Regions from separate parts of the Homo sapiens genome. Here all the other regions are linked to region 1. Evidence: promoter capture Hi-C in 16 types of primary human blood cells and fetal thymus (Javierre and others, 2016). All regions are on one chromosome and are shown on one strand. The core of a region is centred on a gene start or on the middle of the fragment in contact, and the rest is flanking DNA. Distances in the headings are between cores, read along the strand shown. Region 1 holds the start of PAXIP1-AS2 (PAXIP1 antisense RNA 2). Region 2 overlaps LOC105375594 (a long non-coding RNA gene). Region 3 overlaps LINC03010 (long intergenic non-protein coding RNA 3010). Region 4 overlaps INSIG1 (insulin induced gene 1). Region 5 has its middle 12 kb from the start of INSIG1. Region 6 holds the start of LOC105375587 (a long non-coding RNA gene). Region 7 has its middle 65 kb from the start of INSIG1.

What was found. Contacts are between HindIII fragments. The CHiCAGO score rates a contact against its expected background, and 5 or more counts as called.
Region 2: a fragment that was not itself captured here is called in contact with the fragment with the promoter of PAXIP1-AS2 in region 1 in 1 of 17 cell types (megakaryocytes); the score reaches 5.1 in megakaryocytes.
Region 3: a contact is called between a fragment that was not itself captured here and the fragment with the promoter of PAXIP1-AS2 in region 1, in 4 of 17 cell types (neutrophils, naive B cells, activated CD4 T cells and 1 more). The highest score is 9.5, in neutrophils.
Region 4: a contact is called between a fragment that was not itself captured here and the fragment with the promoter of PAXIP1-AS2 in region 1, in 16 of 17 cell types (naive CD4 T cells, total CD4 T cells, total B cells and 13 more). The highest score is 20.5, in naive CD4 T cells.
Region 5: a fragment that was not itself captured here is called in contact with the fragment with the promoter of PAXIP1-AS2 in region 1 in 11 of 17 cell types (naive B cells, total B cells, total CD8 T cells and 8 more); the score reaches 11.0 in naive B cells.
Region 6: a fragment that was not itself captured here is called in contact with the fragment with the promoter of PAXIP1-AS2 in region 1 in 4 of 17 cell types (total CD8 T cells, activated CD4 T cells, total B cells and 1 more); the score reaches 6.8 in total CD8 T cells.
Region 7: a fragment that was not itself captured here is called in contact with the fragment with the promoter of PAXIP1-AS2 in region 1 in 2 of 17 cell types (activated CD4 T cells and neutrophils); the score reaches 5.8 in activated CD4 T cells.

What each region holds. Positions count from the first base shown.
Region 1 is chr7:154,927,038-154,929,766 of GRCh38, reverse strand. PAXIP1-AS2 (PAXIP1 antisense RNA 2) reads right to left here and starts at 1,250. Exons shown (of 8, transcript NR_024476.1): 1 at 1,000-1,250; 2 at 743-811. RefSeq lists enhancers at 620-839, 990-1,089, 1,110-1,169. The HindIII fragment of the contact is 7,419 bases long and covers 1-2,575 here.
Region 2 is chr7:155,416,401-155,419,129 of GRCh38, reverse strand. LOC105375594 (a long non-coding RNA gene) reads right to left here. Exons shown (of 4, transcript XR_928239.3): 4 at 301-734. Among named protein-coding and RNA genes, the nearest start is that of LINC03010, 36 kb to the right of the region's middle. The HindIII fragment of the contact is 1,213 bases long and covers 724-1,936 here.
Region 3 is chr7:155,390,878-155,393,606 of GRCh38, reverse strand. All of the region lies in intron 1 of LINC03010 (long intergenic non-protein coding RNA 3010), which reads right to left. Among named protein-coding and RNA genes, the nearest start is that of LINC03010, 10 kb to the right of the region's middle. The HindIII fragment of the contact is 4,739 bases long and covers 1-2,729 here.
Region 4 is chr7:155,301,316-155,304,044 of GRCh38, reverse strand. INSIG1 (insulin induced gene 1) reads right to left here. Exons shown (of 6, transcript NM_005542.6): 3 at 2,355-2,479; 4 at 1,628-1,794; 5 at 1,199-1,298. Among named protein-coding and RNA genes, the nearest start is that of INSIG1-DT, 3.7 kb to the right of the region's middle. The HindIII fragment of the contact is 492 bases long and covers 1,071-1,562 here.
Region 5 is chr7:155,284,291-155,287,019 of GRCh38, reverse strand. No RefSeq gene overlaps it. Among named protein-coding and RNA genes, the nearest start is that of INSIG1, 12 kb to the left of the region's middle. The HindIII fragment of the contact is 3,692 bases long and covers 1-2,729 here.
Region 6 is chr7:155,252,118-155,254,846 of GRCh38, reverse strand. LOC105375587 (a long non-coding RNA gene) reads left to right here and starts at 741. Exons shown (of 5, transcript XR_001745437.2): 1 at 741-831; 2 at 1,315-2,729. The HindIII fragment of the contact is 1,140 bases long and covers 812-1,951 here.
Region 7 is chr7:155,231,175-155,233,903 of GRCh38, reverse strand. No RefSeq gene overlaps it. Among named protein-coding and RNA genes, the nearest start is that of INSIG1, 65 kb to the left of the region's middle. The HindIII fragment of the contact is 1,914 bases long and covers 372-2,285 here.

The sequences.
Region 1 (2,729 bases), core at 1-2,500:
TTCTGTCTATATTATTCCTGCCTGGATGACATAGTGAGGTCTTCACTGCTGGAGAAGGGAGGGCTGGTGGGCCAGAGGGGAGACCCTGCAGAGGTGTGCAGTGTCCTTCTCTGCTGTTCATCTCAACCCGCTGTGTTAGGAAACCAGGAGGAAGCCCTACCTGGAATGAAACAGGTGCCTAGAATGAAGAGGGTAAGGACAAGGTTTAAGACTGTGACACCTGTTGCTTAAGAGACGCATTTAGGAGTGTGGCATGTAGATCCCAAATGTCCGTTTTGTAAAAGTTGTTGTTATTGTTTCACTTTTGTTGTTGTTGTTTGTTTGTTTTGAGATAGAGTCTCACTCTGTTGCCCAGGCTGGAGTGCAGTGGTGCAATCACAGCTCCCTGCAGCCTCAACCACCTGGCTCAAGCACTCCTCCCACCTCAGTCTCCCGAGTAGGCGGGGCCACATGTGTGCACTGCCATTCCTGGCTAAGTTTTCTTTTAATTCTTTGTAGAGACAGGGTTTCCCTATGTTGCCCAGGCTGGTCTTGAACTCCTGGCTTCAAGCAATCCTCACACTTCAGCCTCCTAAAGTGCTGGGATTACAGGCGTAAGCCACCACGCCCAGCCTGTTGTTATTGCTTTGAAGGAGTTCAGGAAATGCCACCCCCATGGCACTTGGGAGTGCTGATCCCTGTGAGCTGAGGGCACTTGGGAATCAGCGGATGCAGGCAGAGGTTTCCTCTGAGCTCCCCTTACCTGCCTGAAGACGGATCCTCCAAAAGGAACTCAGCTGTCATGAATCGCCTCCCCAGGAATCTCGTCAATCTGGGAGGATTAACACAGATCACAGGAGAGGACACTGGAGGTGACATCAGCCCAGATGACTATCACCCGTTCTCCCGAAGGCGGCTCTGAGATGTTTACGACCTCAGAGACATTTCATCCACAGAGCAGCACAACCTTTACTCACCAGACAGTCCCTCCCCAGGCTCTCCCATCACTTGTGTTCTCACCTCCCCTGGAAGCCCCGGGAACTTCGAAGTAGGCTTCTGTGGACTCCTGCCACTTCATCAGTAGCTGGGGCCCTGGTACCAGCACAAACTGCTTGCATCCAACTGACTTCACCAGACATACGGGCGTCTTTGGTAAGACCGCTCTCAGGTTTTGAATCTCCCAGGTTTGGGCTGAGATTCAGATTTTATTTAAGTAAATGAATTTCATGCTCAGTGGGACTGATATTGAAGCCGCCATTTAGGGCTTTAAGGCAGGAGTTTCGCGTCATTTCTCTAAAGATTCTGCTATTGGCAGGTTTGTGGTTTCACTTTTCTATTAGGTTAAGTTTTCGTTCGTCTTACTTGCTCTTTTGTAACCTTTTCTCTCATTGGACATTTTACTTGCTCAAGTTTGTAACCTTTTCTCTCATTGGACATTTTTTTACTTGCTCAAGTTTGTAACCTTTTCTCTCATTTGACATTTGGTTAAAGAGAAAGCAGTTTTCTTTGTAAAAGGAGAAAGTGAATGTTTGTGGCTTAAGCCAAATTTGTGGCTTTAAACCAGCCAGGCTTTGGATCTTGGTTAACATTGAGATTTAAAGTTTCTTCCTGAGTCACCCAAAATTTGTAAAAGGTTGGAATGAGGACGTGATAAGCTGAAGACAAAAAGGACTCTTTCTCCCAGCTGAAAGGCACCTTAGGCAATGGAGGTAACACAAGGGTGTGGAAGCTCACAACAAACCCCAGAGAAGAACTCACAGGGAGAGCTGCTTAACCCCCGGGGCACACAACACACAAGGGGTTCGTCACCCAGTGCCTTGAACTCCCAGAAATGTCTGGGTTTCTCTGAGGTAGGTAAGAGGGAAGAAGCTACTTGTAGGTGATACCTCCAGGAATAATCCCTACTAAGCAGCACACTGGACCCCAAACACTTTTCCCTTTTAGCCTTTGGGCATTTTAAAAGAGAATCCAAATTATGAGCAATTATCCATCTATAACCAAGCCCTCATTAAGCAATGCACCTTTGGAAACTCCAGCGGGGTTTATGTACAAGACTTATGGCGCCACCTCCTGTCGATAGTTGGAGAAATGGTCTTATTTGACCTAAGAAGATCCTAAATTACAATGATCAAAGAGAATTATCTTTGAAATAGCTAGATTAGTTTATTTATATGCACAATTTTAAAAAGCCAGCTATGGAATCAAATAAAATAATTAAGAGAGTTACTTCCAATGGCACCCAGAAGCATCCAAAAGAGGTTTTGACAGAATTCTTCCCTTAGAGGAAGAAAATAAAAAGCACTCTAAAACCATTACTGAATTTTAAAAAACACTGAAATGTCTTCTTCTCTCCCTGCTCCCCTGTCTCTCTAAGCCTCCTTGTCAGAACTACCCAGCCCTGATTGACCTTCTCCTCCTCCTCCTCCTGCCCCTCCTCCTGCTCCCACTGGTTTGGCTCCATTTCATCCAGCATCTGGTAGAGGGGAACCTGCTTTATCAATCATGATCAAACTTACAGGCATAGTTAAAAGAATTCCTTGATCTTCACCAGGTTCCTATTGGTTTTGCTAGGAAATTTGAATTAAATATCCAAGCTTATGACCCTAGTTATTCTGACTTCTAGCAACAGATTCACATGTTAGTAGCAAAAATTAAAGCTAAAGGCTGGCTAGACAAAGCTCACTGGAGAAATCTGTTAGGGATCTTCATAAATGTTCAGAAGAGGACCATAGACAGGCTTGAAGAACAGC
Region 2 (2,729 bases), core at 81-2,580, 490 kb before region 1:
TTGGGTGCTGGCGGCGGGAAGCCCTCATCACATGGTTCTGGGGCCTTGGAGAAGACCCTCCACAGCCCTCCTGCTCCCTCCTCAGCAGCCAGGTGCACAGACCAGAGACTGTCCCATGGGTGACTCCCTGCGTTGGAAGAGAAGCGCTCCTTCCTCCACCTCCTCACAGAGGAGGAGACTGAAACCAAGATAAATCAAGGGACGTGCCCAGCTCCACAGGGACTCACCGGTGGAGTACGGAGAAGAACAAAGCCTCAAGTCATTAGTTATGAATTTTTTAACATAACCACACGTTAAACATAAAATGTAGAGCAATTTTTAAGCCTTTTTGAGGACTAGGAGTTCACGCTGCATCTCCCGTGGGCAGGATGGGAGGAGGGCAAAGTGCAGGATGCTAACAGTTCCCTGCAGGGGAAGAGCCCAGGGGCTCCAGGTGCCTGGGTGGAGCCCAAAGGTCAAGGGGACTTCACCCCCAGGCCCACTGCCTGGAAAAGTCATCAAATAGAGGAGGAAAGCGCTGAGCACAGATAATGCACCAAAATGGCCTGGTCACAGCAGGGAGAGAAAGCAGCTGGGCAGGGAGGGAGAGCAGCCAGGCAGGGAGGGAGAGCAGCCGGGCAGGGTTGCGCATGTGCCGGTCTGTAGAGCGGTCTGCGGTGCGGTCTGTCGTGCGGTCTGCGGTGCGGTCTGTAGTGCTTTCCAGATGTGAGGCTCCAATAAGCTTCCTGTATGAGCTGGGCATGGAAATGCCCCTTCGGATCCCTCCAGGGAAGGCCCTGCCCTCCAGCATTGGGAGAGCAGCCTCAGATACCTCCAGCTGTCCCTCCTTCAGGCTGCCTCAGCTGCAGATGGTCACCTTACCCGGGACCAGCTGTGGGGGGTATGAATGCCCAGCCCTTCCCGCCCACCTGCAGCAACTCTAACAGGCCCCACAGCCCAGGGCTCCCTGGGGGTGCCGAGGCTGGGCCAGGGTGCATCTTGCTGGGCTTCTCTCTCTGCCCCTTTCCCAGGCATGGGTCCCTGATCAATATCCTGTGCTCTAAACTCCATCTTAGCATCTGCAAGCAAGTGGGGGACAATACTCTGTCTCAGCTTCAAAGAAGACGGAGAACTGATAAGGGCGAATGCCAAGACTGGGCCAGGGAGGGTGCAGCAAAGAGCCACGGCAGGTGGGAGGAGTGGGGGGGCTGCCCCTGAACAGTGGGGAGCAGGGCTGGGGAGGACGGGGCCCTACAAGCCTGGGCTACACCCAGGGACCAATTCCTAAGCAGAAAAACCACAAGCAGTGAGCCCGGAGGGGTTGGGCCTGGGGTTAAGGGGAGAAGGAGAGACGGTGAGAGCAGTCAGACATCCCACTCACGGGCAGGGCATGGAGGGCTTGGCTGGGCGCCATCTCCCAGATCCAGGAGGAGCAGGAGGAGGCCAGAGGTGGCTGCGCCATTTCTTTCCTCCACCTGGCCCAGGACTTCCTGACTCTGAGAAACACAGCCCTCTAACTGGCCAAACAAGGTGTAGGTGATGAAAACATGTCCCTTTGCCACTGGGGCAGCTGTCAACAGCATTAAGGTGTGTGTTATCTTTTGAGCTCCATGTTCCCTGTGGTGAAGAAGGCTGGATGCCTCCAAGCAGGGCAGAGAGAGATGAGAGCAAGGGCCAGAGAAACAGGGAAGAGAGAGATGGGAGCAGGGGCTGGAGAAGGAACTTGCCTGAAGCCTTCTCTTCTGAATCTGCATATAACTTCATATAGAAAGAGAACATACGTATTGATAAGAGGAAAATGATTCAATAGAAAAAAAAAAAAGGGAAGGATCTGCACAGCTAATTTCACATGGGAGGAAATCCAGATGAAAGCGATGCAGGACAGGCAAACACCAAAATCGGGGCTTGCCCAGGAGGGAAGAACTCCAGGGCGGGCCAGGGGTGTGAGGCAGAAGCTTTTGTGGAAGCCCCGTGCACAGCGGCGGCAACGGAGGGACTGCTCTTGGTAAAGCAGGGCTCCCCCATAGGCAGTGCGCCCAGGGTAGCAGCTTAGCGGCAGGTCTGCAGTCATGTTTAGGTCCACTTTTAATTATATGCAAATTAGGGGTGGTTTATGCAGAACTTTTAGGAAAAGGGTGGTAACTTCCGGGTTGTCAGGTTATTGAAGGGGTGGTACTCCGGGTATTGCCGTGACAATGGTAAACTGACATGGCACACTGGTTTTCTGCCCCTCCCTGTTTCAGCTAGTCTTCAATTTGGTCCTGTGTCCAAGAGCCCCGCCTCTGGACTCAGGTCCCACCTCCTACCTCAAAAGCAAAGGTCTGAAGGTGGTCCCACCACGCTAGCAAAGAGGGAGATGGAATTGAGGCCTACTGAAGTGCTCCACAGCCTAACACTCACTAGCAGAAGCCTTGTGGCCTTTGCTGATATTGAGGAATTAACGGGATTGCACCTAGGTTGCTAAAAACTCTTGGTGCCTTAGAAATGCGTATGGGTGTCTGTTGGTGAAATACCATAATGTTTGGCAGGGATTTGTTCTAAATATGTTCCAGAAAATGGCCAGGGAAACAGATGCAATACAATTAGTAAAAGCTGATGGTGGTCGCAGCTGGGTGGTGAGTATGGTTCGTTGTTCTGTTCTCTGGACTTTTGTGTATGTTTGAGATTTTCCTTAGAAAGAGTTGAGAAAAGAACAAAGAACCATACGCCTGTCTGGTGAGAATGTGGGCAACAGTTCTCTCACACAGTCT
Region 3 (2,729 bases), core at 64-2,563, 460 kb before region 1:
AAAGTTTAAGAATGAAGTATTAATAAATAAGAACTCTCAACCACAGCCCAACACTCCCACCCAACATTATTACTGACTCTTTTCCCTTCACATGGCAGGGATGGGGTAGAGGGGTGACACATTGGAAGGGTTAGGTGGCAGGTCTGTTTCCTCCTCTTGTCCTGTATTTGATGATGAGCCCAGGTGACTCACTGCAGACCTCATGTGGTGAGTGACTACTAAGTTCTGATATGCCTGGCTGGTCCATGGTGGCTGAAAGTCACAGAACTCTGGATGAAGCCGAGGGTGGCAGCAGCTGTCCCCAGGGCTAACCCACATGATTTCACATTTGTGAGTGCAAATCCCTTCCGAGAGGGTTTTTATCTGTCCTGCTGGTCCCTGGGGCAGGAGGAACCCTCAGAGGTTGCCCAGGCCCTCTGCTCAGCAGTCACACAAGGCCACTCACTACCTTGTGTGATTATGAGCCGGCTCCCTGGCATGCCATTGTTAGAACATCCTTAAGCAGGGATTATTTTTTCGTGAAGCTGCAATTAAATATTGTAAATTCAGAAACGTGGCTGGAGGAACAATGGGCCTGGAGAACAGGAAGAGATGCAGGTTGGGGTAAGTCACCATTTCACCGTCCTCTGCAAAGTGGATGAGATCGCAGCCTCTTTGTCCGCGCCTGTGGATGAGTGCTCTGCAGCTGCTGGCTTTCTGATGTGGGACTGCTGAGCATTCACACACTGATTCACTGGAGCCAAAATACTCACAGCAGAAAATAGTGTTTGCTCAGGGTAACGCCTGCCCCTGGAACCTGCCCTAGTCCTCCTCTTCCAGACAATGCCATTCCCAGCCATGTGAAGAAAAAACCCCACGCTATTGTTCCCAGAAGACACCTTCAGAAAGAAACCTGCCTAGTGAGCACCGCCAAGCAAGGATGGCGGGAGGCACCTGCGTACCCAGTCACCCGAGTCCCCAGCATGCAGAGGCCCTGCAGGCAGGTGGGAAGCCGGGCCTGCTTCTCAGCACCTCTCTCCTGGTCCCGGGTTCTCCTCCTCCCTAGGATTACTTAGGAAGAAAGTGTTTCACACAAAGACCAGACACAGGCTCAGTGTTGGTGCTTTGGGTAGAAAGGTTGAAGTTGGCCCGGTGGGTAAGCCTGCGCCGTTATGGAACGCCGGGCAAAGTCCATCATGGGGGGAAATGAGAAATGGCCGGCCACCTTTCAATGGCTCCTGGGACATCTATCCGCAGGCAGAGCCACACCGCAAAGAATCCCCAGGGATTCCTTCCAGGTATCATCTAAAGATCACCCATCTCAGTGCAAAACCGTGCTTTTCCCAAAGCAAGTCTGGAAAAGGTCTTTCAAACCCGGTCTGTGCAAAATGGCATTTCCATCGTTGTCACCAAAGACAGCAGCAAAACGCCTGGCATCTGATAGAAACATCAGTTCTGACTGCGCTGGTGAGGTGGCAGGAGAAGGCCCTCCCTCGCTCTGTGGGTCGCCCCTGAGCTTCCGAGGAAAGCCATTTGGTTGATATCTGAGGAAAATTTGATCTCGTGCTGCTAGGGCTATTGGTACAAAATGGAGATTCCAGAGAAAGCATCACTAATTTAAAATTGAATTTTAAATTGTCTTTTCCATCTTTCAAAGCCCAGCCCAATTCCTAAAGCAACACATAACTGGTTTTTCATACTTTCCATGAAAAACAAATGCACATATTTTATACTGTTTCTTCTGAGCAATGGTAAATGGCTCTTTTCTTTTGACTTTTTGGATTTTTACCCTTTTTTCCAATGCTTAGGATGGAAATTCCAGAAACCTTACAGAATTACACAGTACTCTAATTTCCCATTTGGGGAGCCCTTTAGAAAGTGCGCTGACTTTTGAAAGCTGCAATCTGAGAGTATTCTGTCTATAGGGTCAAACCCTCATGGACATGGGCCCCACAGGGGGAAGCGAGGCTGAGGTCTGTTCCCTGCAGGTGGGCTGGACACGGGGCCCTGGGCAGCAAGGAGGCTCACGGCTCTCCTCACGTATCTCCAACCTGGGACCGCTCTGGCCATCCTCCCCACCCCTGTGCAGAGCTCTGGGTACCCCCAGCTCTCCCTCACGGTGTCCTGATCTTCACTCACCTGGACACACTGCACAGATTTCAGAAACAGGACTCTGCAGAGAAGGCATCTCCTGCCCCGAGGGAGTGGGTTTGCAGGGGTACCACATCAGCCCTTAATGGGGGAGGGTTTTAGGTGGGTCCTCTTGGCCTCCTAGGTCTCAACATGTTCATAACTGGGCTGGGCCCACCTAAAATAAATGGACTGCTTTAACTCCCTCAATTTATCACGAGGTCTAATACGAACATAGAAAAGGAAAGAAGCATTTGGGTATTGAATGACTGCACATTTTCTGAACTCATCGCCATTTCGAGCTTAGGCTCCTTAAACGTTTGACTCCAGGCCGTTCACATGTTGGCTTCAGGGACTGCACTGGCTACGCTTTCTCTGCAATATTATCCACAGCTGTAGAACCTGTGGTTGTGAAGGAGGATGCATTATTAATCCTGCCTCCCAGCCTGTGCATATTGAAACCAGCTCTCCGACATCTTAGACTCCAGCAGGCACGGACCCTTTCAAGACGGTAGGATTTTGAGCTCAGTTACGTGAACTGTGAACTCTCAGCCACGCCAGCATTAGGTTAGTATACAACCCTTGTACACAGGGTGTCACGCTCATATTTTAATGAAATT
Region 4 (2,729 bases), core at 67-2,566, 370 kb before region 1:
TTACAGTGAGCTATGATGGCACCACTGCACTCCAGAGCTCTGTCTCAAAAAAAAAAAAAAAAAAAAAAGGCAAGCAAAGTCCTTTCTTCTCCATCATGAGAAATTTGGCAGCAGAGAGTCAGTAACCAGTGGAAGACTGCAAATTCTACCTGTAATTACTTCTGGTTTTGTGAAACAGCCAAGTGGTCTTCAAATTCAACTCCTCACAGAAGGGTATCAGCTGGCAAAAATAAATGTACTGTTTTAAAAATAGCATGAGGTACTAAGATAAGTTTTCCCAGAGCTTATCTCCGAGAGCAACAGCTCTAGGTTTTTGTTGTTTTTTTTAATTTACTTTCTTTCAGCCTGCCAAAGTCAACTCAAAATAACATTTAAAAGTCCACCTCTATGTTTTTAAATTGAAGTGCTAAGATGTCAATTTTTAACTAATGAGAACTGCTAAAGCCATCCTGGAGTTCACTACCTTTCCGTCTCCCTCAGGGGGGCTGTGAGAGAAGCTCTGCGGGGTAGCACTGCTTTCTCCTGCAGCTGAGAACAGATGCAATGTTCAGGCAGGACAGTCCGTCTACATGGTGACCCGGCCACGTGCAGCGGTGCTCTCATCACCACTTCTCCATGCCCAGGGCCACCTGCCCCACAGAAAGGTGCTGCCTGCCTGAACCAGGCTGTCCCCTTGCCCACCCACATTAGTCCCTGCCCTGGCCCGAGACAGACTCTGCAGCCTCAGGCTCGATTTGCTTGACTGTGGACTAAGAGGCCAGCATCATCTGCATCCACTCTGATTTTGTGAAAAGAAACACTGGTGGACTGATGCTCAGGGAGCAAAGTATCACTGCATGAGGTCATCCAGATCTGCTTCCGATGGTGAAGGAGGAGGGGACACTCACACACCAGTCACTTTCTCTACTGCTTACTACAGAAATTTCAAGAATTCAGAACACTGACCACATCTGCAATTCAAAGGGGCAGTGCGAGGGCTCTAGTTCCTTTTCTAGATCAAATATTATGAATTTTTATAATTTAGCAAAGAATTACCTGGGTATCATTACCTATTTTTTTAAATATAAGCTTTTCTCAGTAGTTGTCACTCAAGTCTGAACCAGAATATATGAACGCAAATTTGAATGTATCATGTAAAGTCATTCTATCAAGGTAAAGAGACGCAAGTTTTAGAAGATAATATGATCATTTCACTTACCATAGCTAACTGTCGTCCTATGTTCCCCACCGTGACGCCTCCTGAGAAAAATATACAAGGGAGCCAAGAACGAATATAGAGGAAATCTGGGGATGTATACCTGGAGCGAGAAAAGAAACTGTACCTTAGCAGTCAATTTCACCTGGCTCAATTCTACATCACAGATTCTCTGTAGTGGGGATATGCAGAACGCATATCAACCATCCAATGTTACGAATGTTCATATTTGTTTGGTTGTAACTGCTACTACTTGGTTTTCCTTTGCGTTACATTAAGTTATGGATAGCAGCATTTTTGAGAATTTCATGCCTAAATCTGTATCATTCTATATAAAAAACAAATAAAATATGAAAATATCTAAGCTTAGTGGATGTTTTAATGAAAGTTAAGTAAGCTTTCCAAAGCCAATATTTGAAAACACACACTTACTGATAGACACCATTATACACGAGAAACTGCGTGATCAGCGTAGCTAGAAAAGCTATGGTGATCCCCAGCCCAAGGCCACTTCTGGAACGATCAAATGTCCACCAAAGGCCCAAAGATAGGGCTGCTAAAGTCAAGGACAGCTGGACATTATTGGCAAAATCCAATTTCTGGTGATATAAAAGTTAAGGAAAAGTTTGCTGACTCTTATTAAGATAAAAAAACGTAAAACCACAAGGGTTAAAAACATGGGTATTTTATTATTGTACCACAGATAATTCACTGTCCATAAAAACTGTGTAATAAGCTAAAGAAAGGATTTGTTGGATACAGGTTACAGTAATCATTAAGATCACCTGAAATCTCCCTGCCATCACTGAGTCAAAAACTTAACCATAAGAATAAACTTGCTGAAAGCTATATATAAAGTGCTTATATATATTTATATAAATATATATTTATTATATATATTATATATATTTAAAAATATATATAATATATATAAAAATATAAATAAATATATATTTATTTTGACCATAAAACAATATATTTTACTATGAAGTCATCGATAGCCCCATTCTTCTTTCTCTTTTTAGTAATCTGAAATGGGTAGGTACCACCATCATGTCTGTATTATGACATGGAGTCATTTGAGTATATAACAAAACAAAACGCTTCAATATATAACCTAAGAAGATACTCTGGACGTAGCACAGAAAATTAAGGATACAGCACTGGCGTGGTTAATGCCAACAAAAACTGCTATGCAGCGCATGACACTGGCCCATTCTCTCTTAAATTTGTGGGGTTCTCCGAGGTGACTGTCGATACAGGGGTACAGTAGGCCAACAACAGCTGTTTTAAAAAAGTTGACAATGTTAGAATACAGCAGATTCAAGTTCCAGAATTTCAACGTGGTCATTAGTAACACAGTACATTACTCAAACCAGTCCTTTTCCTAGAAAAAATTATCAGCTATAACTTCAGAGTGATTTTATATTCTTGTTCTCTTTGAGTACCACTCCCACAAAATTGTACTGTTTGGAAAAGTTTTTTAAAAATCACTATTATTTAGTGTAGTTGAACATGTCTCAGTAAACACAGG
Region 5 (2,729 bases), core at 96-2,595, 360 kb before region 1:
CATGGAAAGAGCAAAGAAGACAGTGCAGGTGGCCCACAAGCACATGGAAAGGCACTTAGCTTCACCAGTCAGCAGGGAAATGCGAATCAAAACCACAGTGGGTCGTCACTTCACACCCTTTAGGATGGGTATTGTAAAAACAAAAACCAGAAAAGAACACGCACTGATGAGGGCGTAGAGAGATTGGAACCCTTGTGTGCTGTTGGTGAGAATGTGAAATGATGCAGCTGCTCCAGAAAACAGCACGGCGGTGTATTAGTCAGGGTTCTCCAGAGGGACAGAACTAATGGAATAGATACATATATATGAAGGGGAGTTTATTAAGTATTAACTCACACAATCACAGGGTCCCACAATAGGCCGTCTGCAGGCTGAGGAGCAAGGAGAGCCAGTCCCAGTTCCAAAACAGAAGAACTTGGAGTCTGATGTTCAAGAGCAGGAAGCATCCAGCACGGGAGAAAGATGTAGTCTGGGAGGCTAAGCCAGTGTCTGTTTTCACATTTTTCTGCCTGCTTTATATTCTAGCCGCCGTGGCAGCTGATTAGATGGAGCCCATCCGGATTGAGGGTGGATCTGCCTTTCCCAGCACACTGACTCAAATGTTCATCTCCTTTGGCAACACCCTCAGAGACACACCCAGGATCAATACTTTGTATCCCTCAATCCAATCCAGTTGACACTCAGTATCAACCATCACAGGGGGTTTCTGAAAAGAAATAAAAGAAAGAAAAGAACTACCATGTGAGCCAGCAAGTCTACTTCTGGGTGTTTGCACACAGAAACTGAGTGCAGGGCCTTGAAGAGATACGGGTACCCCCGTGCCCCTCACAGCAACATTCACAAGAGCCAAGGGTGGAGATAACCCAAAGTCCACTGATGGGTGAATGGGCGAGTGAGCAAGATGGGGCCTTTCCGTACCATAGAATATCACTCAGCTGTAAACAGGAAGGAGATGGAGGAAACTGGAGGATGTTATGGTGAGTGAAATCAGCCAGTCGCAAAAGGACAAAGACTCCTCCACTCATATGAGGTCCCCAGAGTCGTCAGATCACAGAGGCGGACAGGAGAGTGGGGGGTGCCGGAGTCTGGGGGAGGGATGGGGCATGAGTGTTTGGTGGGGACAGAGTTTCCTTTCAGAAGATGAAAAGGGTCTGGAGATGGATGGTGGCGATGGCACAACGATGCGAGTGTGCGTAATGCCACAGAACTGTGCACTTGAACATGATTAAAGGGTAAGTTTTATGTTATATATGACTTACCACAGTAAAAAAAATACGGAAGGAGGCAGAAATGACATCGGCCTGGTTCTTCCTTGACATTAGGTCCTGCCGGGACCTATGTTCCATAAGTCCCTGGGGTTGGAGTGCGAAAGCGATGAAGAGGAGACAGAACAGCAGAGGGGTGAGGGCAGGGGCATCGTCTTTGGGTGCAATGCTCTGTGCTCTCAGCTGCTGGAAGCTCCAGCGGCATCCACAAGGCAGCAGGTCCTTCATTAGGCTTCTTTGTCCTTCTTGAGCTTCTTCTCTGCATATTCTCTGGCCTCTCTTCCCTGCCCTCTCAGGCCTCCATCTGTGTGCTGTCATGCTGTCTGCACTCCGGAGGTTAGTGTTTGCTAGAGCTGAGCTTCATTGCAAGAATTCTCTCTGTTCTCATCTCCTTCATCTCTTCTGGGTCACCTGGTGATCCAACAATGTGTCCCTTGATTGAGTTCTCCCAGGGTGAGTCCCCCAGAGGTCTCATCCCCTGTGCTGGTCTCTCTCCCTTTGCTCTCAGTCTCCTGATCCATTCTCTGCCCTTCTGGGTCCTGCCTGGCTCCCCAGGCTGCCTGCTGGCCCACTACCTCTGCAGGTGGTGACAGCAGGTTGAGAGGGTGAGAGAGGGAGGTTGGATGCCCGTCCTGCTCCCTCCTTGCCCAGCCCTCTGTCTGCAGCAGTGGCTGTGCCCCCATCCCTGGACAATAGCTGCTCCCAAGGTGGACCCTCCCAGCTTCCCACTTAGTCTGCAGCCCTGAGGATGGGAAGGTGGGTCCGCTTGGCTCCTTCCTTGGTCTGCAGCCCTGGGGAAGGGAATGACTTCCTCTGTCTCCTGTGTTTGGTTGCCTCACCAGCCCTTGTTTGTTCCTTCACCCTGGCCACACCTCTCCAAGTAGTCTTTTCATTAATGCGTCTTTCCTTAGAGGGTCCAGGGGACTTCTGGTTCCTGCTGGGACCTGGAGGACTTATCACTACTTCTTGTCCCACTCTCAGCAAGCTGCTTTCAGGAAGAACTGACCCCTCTGCAAGCCTGGCTGTCCTCAGTCCAGGTTCCCAGGGATGACACGGAAGCCTCTGAAAGCCATCTCTGGGGCTAAGGACGTGGAGGCTGCTGCGGACATGCAGGCTTCCTCCCACTTAACCCAAGATCGCTGGGGGGCCGTTGCCTTACACCAGGGCAGGGCTCCCTGGGAGCTTGGACACGGAGGCACTGGGCCATTTAATAATATTAGAAAAGCCCATCCAGGCGAGGTGGCTCATGCCTGTAATCCCAGCACTTTGGGAGGCTGAGGCAGGTGGATCACTTGAGGTCAGACATTTGAGACCAGCCTGGCCAACATGGTGAAACCCCATCTCTACTAAAAATACAAACATTAGCTGGGCATGATGGTGCACGTCTGTAATCCCAGCTACTCGGGAGGCTGAGGCAGGAGAATCGCTTGAACCCAGGAGACGGAGGTTGTAGTGAGCCAAGAT
Region 6 (2,729 bases), core at 132-2,631, 320 kb before region 1:
CCCACCATATTTTTTAGCCTGGGGGCTGGGAAAAGGGAATAGGAAGTCATAGCTGTCTCATCCTACTCAATCTTACTGCCCTTTGTATTGGAGAAGGTGCAGAAACCATTTCAGAGCAGCCTCTGTCTTGCTTCTCTTCTCCATTTCTTTTTTGTCCTTTTCTTTCCTTTTTTCTCCTTTTCTTTTTCCCCAAGGGAAGAGGAGAAAACTAAAGAAAAGGGTTTGGGCCAGATAGTTCAAAATAGAAACGAGATGGCAGGGAACGCATTCTTACAACTTTCCTGCACCAGAAACCAGGCTCCAGCACAATGCATGAGGCCAGGATGAAGCCACTGAGGTGTTAGGATTAGACTAAGGAATCCTGCAACCAGCAACAACGTTTCCTCAGGTGCTGGAGAGCAGAGGAGTGGCCTGTCTTTTAGGGAGCACAGCATGGATTGAAAACCCTGAACCCAGGCCAGGGCGGGCAGGGCGTTTGGCACAGGTGAGCGCCTGGCTCTTACATGAACCCCAAAAGGAAGCAGCATGATCCTCATGTTTCCGGTGAGGAGACCATGAGGAGATGCAGTCACCTCCTCAGGCCGCCCTGCTAGTTGGCGTTGAGGACAGGCTGCGCACCTCCCCGCTCTGTGGGCAGGTGTGCTCAGCCTTGCCAGGTTGTTACACAGTTTCCAAGACATTGCAACATTGTTGCTATCAAGTAACAGTGAGATAAAGAGGACTGCCCTGCAAGCTACCACAGCCAGAGGCTGGGTTCCTTCTAAATGGTGGGGGAGTGAGAAGCCTGTGGGCCATGGAGCTCTGGGAAGCTTCCAGAACATCAGGCTTGAGGTGGGTCTCCATCAGTATTGAGTGGGTGGGGAAGAGCCATGGGGAATGGCACAGACAAGGTACGGGGTGGTGTGGGAGGCACAGGTGTGTTTGAGGGCTGAGGGTCTGTTCACGTGGTAGAGACGTGGGGGATGCGGCTGGAAAGTGAGGGGCCAGGAACTTAGTCTGGCAGGAGGCAGTTTTCGGTAAGCAGAGGGGAGGGAGACAGTGAAGGTTGTGGAAGGATAGTGGAAACAAACAGAGCAGGCGCCTTCCACACTCCAGTCAGGAAGTGCAGACTGGGGGCTCCAGGGATGCCCCCATCCAACCCCTCAGCCTCAGAGGAGGACGGAGCTGCAAAGGAGGAATACCTCTCCAGGTCCCACAGCCAGGGAAGTGCTGTGGTCCCCACACTCCCTTCAGCTGCCCGCCAGGGACCACTAGCCCTACGTGGGTTTTTCAATTTAAATTAATTAAAATGAAATGAAAATGTCTGCTTCTCAGCCGCCCTGGCCACATTCATGTGTTCCACTGCCACGTGTGCCAGTGACTACTGTCGGGATGTGCCAGGTCTAGGACATTCCCACCGCTGCGGAAAACTGCGCTGCTTCTCCTGTGGCTGCTTCTGCCACGTGGCCTTGAAGGAAACCCACGCTCCAGGGAGGCTGGGCATTGCCTGCCCCTGGACCCCAGTCGGAGTCCCCCCTGGTGGCTGCCTGGGCCTCAGCCACGGCCCCTGAGCAGCTTCCAGCATCCCGAAGGCTCTGCCCCAGGTCCGAGGCCATTCCACGGTCGCTCCCTGCTTCCTCTCCTCCTCCGCTCCCCTTGCTTGTGTCCTTGGCAATGCCCTGCCCCAGTTTCTGCCCCAGAGCCGCTGGCCAGAAATGGCTGAGGTTCGTAGCTGGAGGAAGTGGGCCTGGGCTGACGAGGTGGCACCACTTTGTCCTGGAACATCCCGCCCCTTGGCCTGGGTTCCGCTTGGGAAACAGGCGAGGTTCGAAAGGTGAGTTTTTAGAATTGTCCAATGGCAAGCTGTGACAGTTGTGTGTACCCTGGAGCTCATCCCACCGTGGAAAACTCTGGGAATGTCTGTCTCCACAGTCCTCGGCAAGCGGCCCCAATAGTGGCATTGTTTCAAGCTTTTGGAATATTGTTTTTGGGAAATAAAGTGACTCCTGCTCATTTAGCTGTGCCAACTCACTTGTTTGTCTTATTCTTTTTGCTCAGCAGGTGGCATTTTTGTTCAGTGATTTTATTTGTATCCGCCCGTGTTCATCAACTATGACATATTAATCATGCAAATTAGGATATGATTAATGAAGGAAAAATTAATTCCGCCACTGCATCTGGGTCTGCTGTGACAGCTTAGTGAATGCCCTCATTCTCTGATGCCATCAGCAACTTCTCCAGGGCCGCTGCCGATTGATATATTAATGTTTAGGGTAAAGGTTAGGGACCGAAGCCCAGAGAGACTTTCCTCTCCAGGGCTGGTGTTACAAGCACATATTTGCCTGACAGTGCACATTTTTGAGACAGCGTGTTGCTAAACCCCGTCCTCCTTCCCACTGTGTGAACAGTTTGTAGGAGGAGGGAGTTCGCTCTGTCTTTCGGTGTCTTCTAGACTGAAGCCCACTGTGTCCAGGGCAAGCTCCCCGACCAACTCTGACTCTTGCTGTTTCCAAGGTCCCAGCTTCTTGTTTTCCAGATGCTATTTGCAGACCACGCAGTGACCCATTCGTCCTTGGTAAGTGCTCCTTCTCCTCAGGACTCTGCTCTGGAAACATGAGCTAGGGCTGCAATAAGTTTATCTTCATGATACAGAGTCCTGCAGATAATTTAAATGAGTGCCCCACATCATTTTCTCCCATTGCCCTCTGGTTAACCCTGATTTCCACCCCGCACCCGGAGCTGAGCCGTGA
Region 7 (2,729 bases), core at 79-2,578, 300 kb before region 1:
CAGAGACCCTGGCCCACCAGACCCTCGGCATTCCCAGCCTCCTTAATGTGCTGTGCATTCCCTCAAATTATCCACAATCCGGCACCACCCAGAGTCCACGCTGACGCAGCTGCGCGTCTCTGAGGGCCCAGGCAGAGCTGTCCTTTTGAAGCTTGTCTCTGGGCTGTGTCTGCACCAGAAACCGGCTCGCCTTGCCTGCCCCACCGTGTCCTTGACAACAGCTCCTATTTCCTTTGTTTAAGACAGAGCATAAATATTAGTGGGCGATTTAGTTACGAACCTAACAGGGATGTCTTGGAGACAGCTTTAGTGCAGAAGCCAATGAATTTGGATCTGTCTAGTGCAAAGTTCAAAGCTACTTAAAGAAAGCTTTTCGTTTGTTTGTTTTCCTTTCTCTCTTCATTTGGTGAAATGTCTGGGAAGTGTACGGCTGGCAGGCTGAAAAAGTCCTGGGAGAAAATAACTCGTGCTGGAGAGCAGCAAAGTCCTTCCCACTGGAACTTCCTAGACGAGTCCTTTGGGTTACACATCTGGAATTACTTTTACTAGACAAATCTCTTTTCACTGGACGTCTCTGATTTCAGAATGTGTGATAATTCAGACACCAGTTTGTTGATCTGAAGTTGCCTTCATCATATTCCATGATAGAGGATTTACCAAGCAAATGTCTGAATTATCGATGCTTTGAAGTCCTGTAAGGCCCATTTTGAACCGTAGGAACTGAAATGTTGGTTGATTAGAGGCACTGATGCTCTGGGTGTGGTGTGACAGAAGCGTGAGAGCCGTGTGCAGGGCCTGGGTTTGCAGCCTGGCTCTGCCCCTTGCAGGCTTTGCTCACGGGGTCCCTGTGAGCTGCTTACTCACCTGCCGGGGAAGTGAGCGAGTCCTTCAAAGGAGGCGTTGAAAGCCGACAACAAAGGCACCTTAATACACCTTTGAAGATACTGCCTCGGTCTCAACTCCACCACGAAGACTAAGACGTCTCTGTCTGCCCTGTGAAAGCGTTTAAGGACATGGCTAATTTCTGCCATCAATAAATTTACTGGTCTTATTCTATTGGGTCACTATAAAACTGGCAACAAGCAAACAGGTCTTCAGCAAAAAAGCACTTTGATGCTCATATTACCCCAAATCACTGTGATCATTAAGGATAGAAATCAAGAAGGAACAACAAAATGTGCAGGCCCTAAAACAGAAAGGACGGACGGAGCGAAGCCTCCTGCCTCCTTCCTCTTCCCAGCTTTGCAGCAGGTCCTCAAGTGGGCAAGGGCTGTGGGAGTTTTCTTTTGCTGCTATTATGGTAAATTACCACAAACTTAATGGCTTAAGACAACACAAATTTATTATCCGAGAGTTCTGTGGTTCAAAGGTCCACTACGGGTCTCACTGGGCTACGGCCAGGTGTCAGCACACTGCATCCTTCTGGGGACTCCAGGGGAGCCCCCGTTTTCTTGCCTTTTCCAGGTTGGAGGATGGCCACCTCACTGGGCTTGGGCCCTTCTGTCTTGCAGCTGCAGCAGCATCTCTCTGACTGTATCTGGCAGCGCAGCCCTTCCTCCGACTCCTCTCCCTTCCTCCTCACCAGAAGCACCTGGGATGACATTCACCCACTGGATGATCCAGGAGAATCTCTCGTCTCAAGGCCACCGATGAGCAACCATCATCCTCTGCCATGGAACCTGACACAGGCTCGCATTCCAGGGATCCAGACGTGGATGTCTCTGGGGCCATTGTTCCCTCGACCACAGGGAACAACTGCATGGGTTTCCACTGGTCAAGACAGAAATGTCGCATGACTTGGCCGAAGCAGCTGCAGTGGGCAGCCAGGGGTGGAGGCCTCTGTCCTCCACTTTGAGGCTCTGGTCAGGCGTTTAATTCCTTGCTCCGGAGATATTCCCAGTGAGTCGGCTCTCGTTAAATCTCAGAAAATTCGGTGCTGTGGAGTGGATGAGACTGGTGTATCATTGTTTAGGCCTCATCTGAGCCTATGGATTCTGTCTCAGTGATGGGGACCAGCCCAGGCCGCTGTTTCCACAAAAGAATGACTCTAACAGCAGAAAGGAGAGATGTGTGCAGAGTGAGACCTCTGGCCTGCCATGTGGGGGAACCCGCCCGGCTCCCGGCAGTGTCTCTTGGGTGGCCTCTGGGCCACCAGCGTCTGAATCCCGGAGGACTTGTTAAGGAAGGAACCTACTCCCAGTCTGGTCCCTCAGAATCAGAGTCCCTGGTAACAGGGGCCAGGGAAGCTGCACTTTTCCCCTGTGATTTTCACGTAAAATGAAGCTTTGGAATCGCCAGTACATGGGCATGGGCATGGGCATGGGCATGGACGGGCCAGCCGGATGGACGGCCGCTGCCGAGACGGAAACCTGGGAGGACTGGTCGGTCTGTCTCCTTCAGGTAGTGCTCAGGAGGCTCGAGCACACCTCGTTCCCCGTGGCACTCATGCCCACACTCATCCCTGAAACTTGAGCCAATGTAAGAAACAGCCGTGTGTGGTGATCCATGGGGTGCTGCAGGCAACAGATGCCAAATGCGGTTTTTGTGATGGGAGTCTGGGGCGGGATAACTGTGGGTGCTGCGGGCAACAGACCCCGAATGCGGTTTTTGTGATGGGAGTCTGGGGCGGAATAGCTGTTCTAGAGCCGTGAAGGGATCAAGCACATTCCCAAAGCCCCTGCTCGGCATAATGACCTTATTAAGTCCACGTTTTCTTTCTTTTCCTGGTA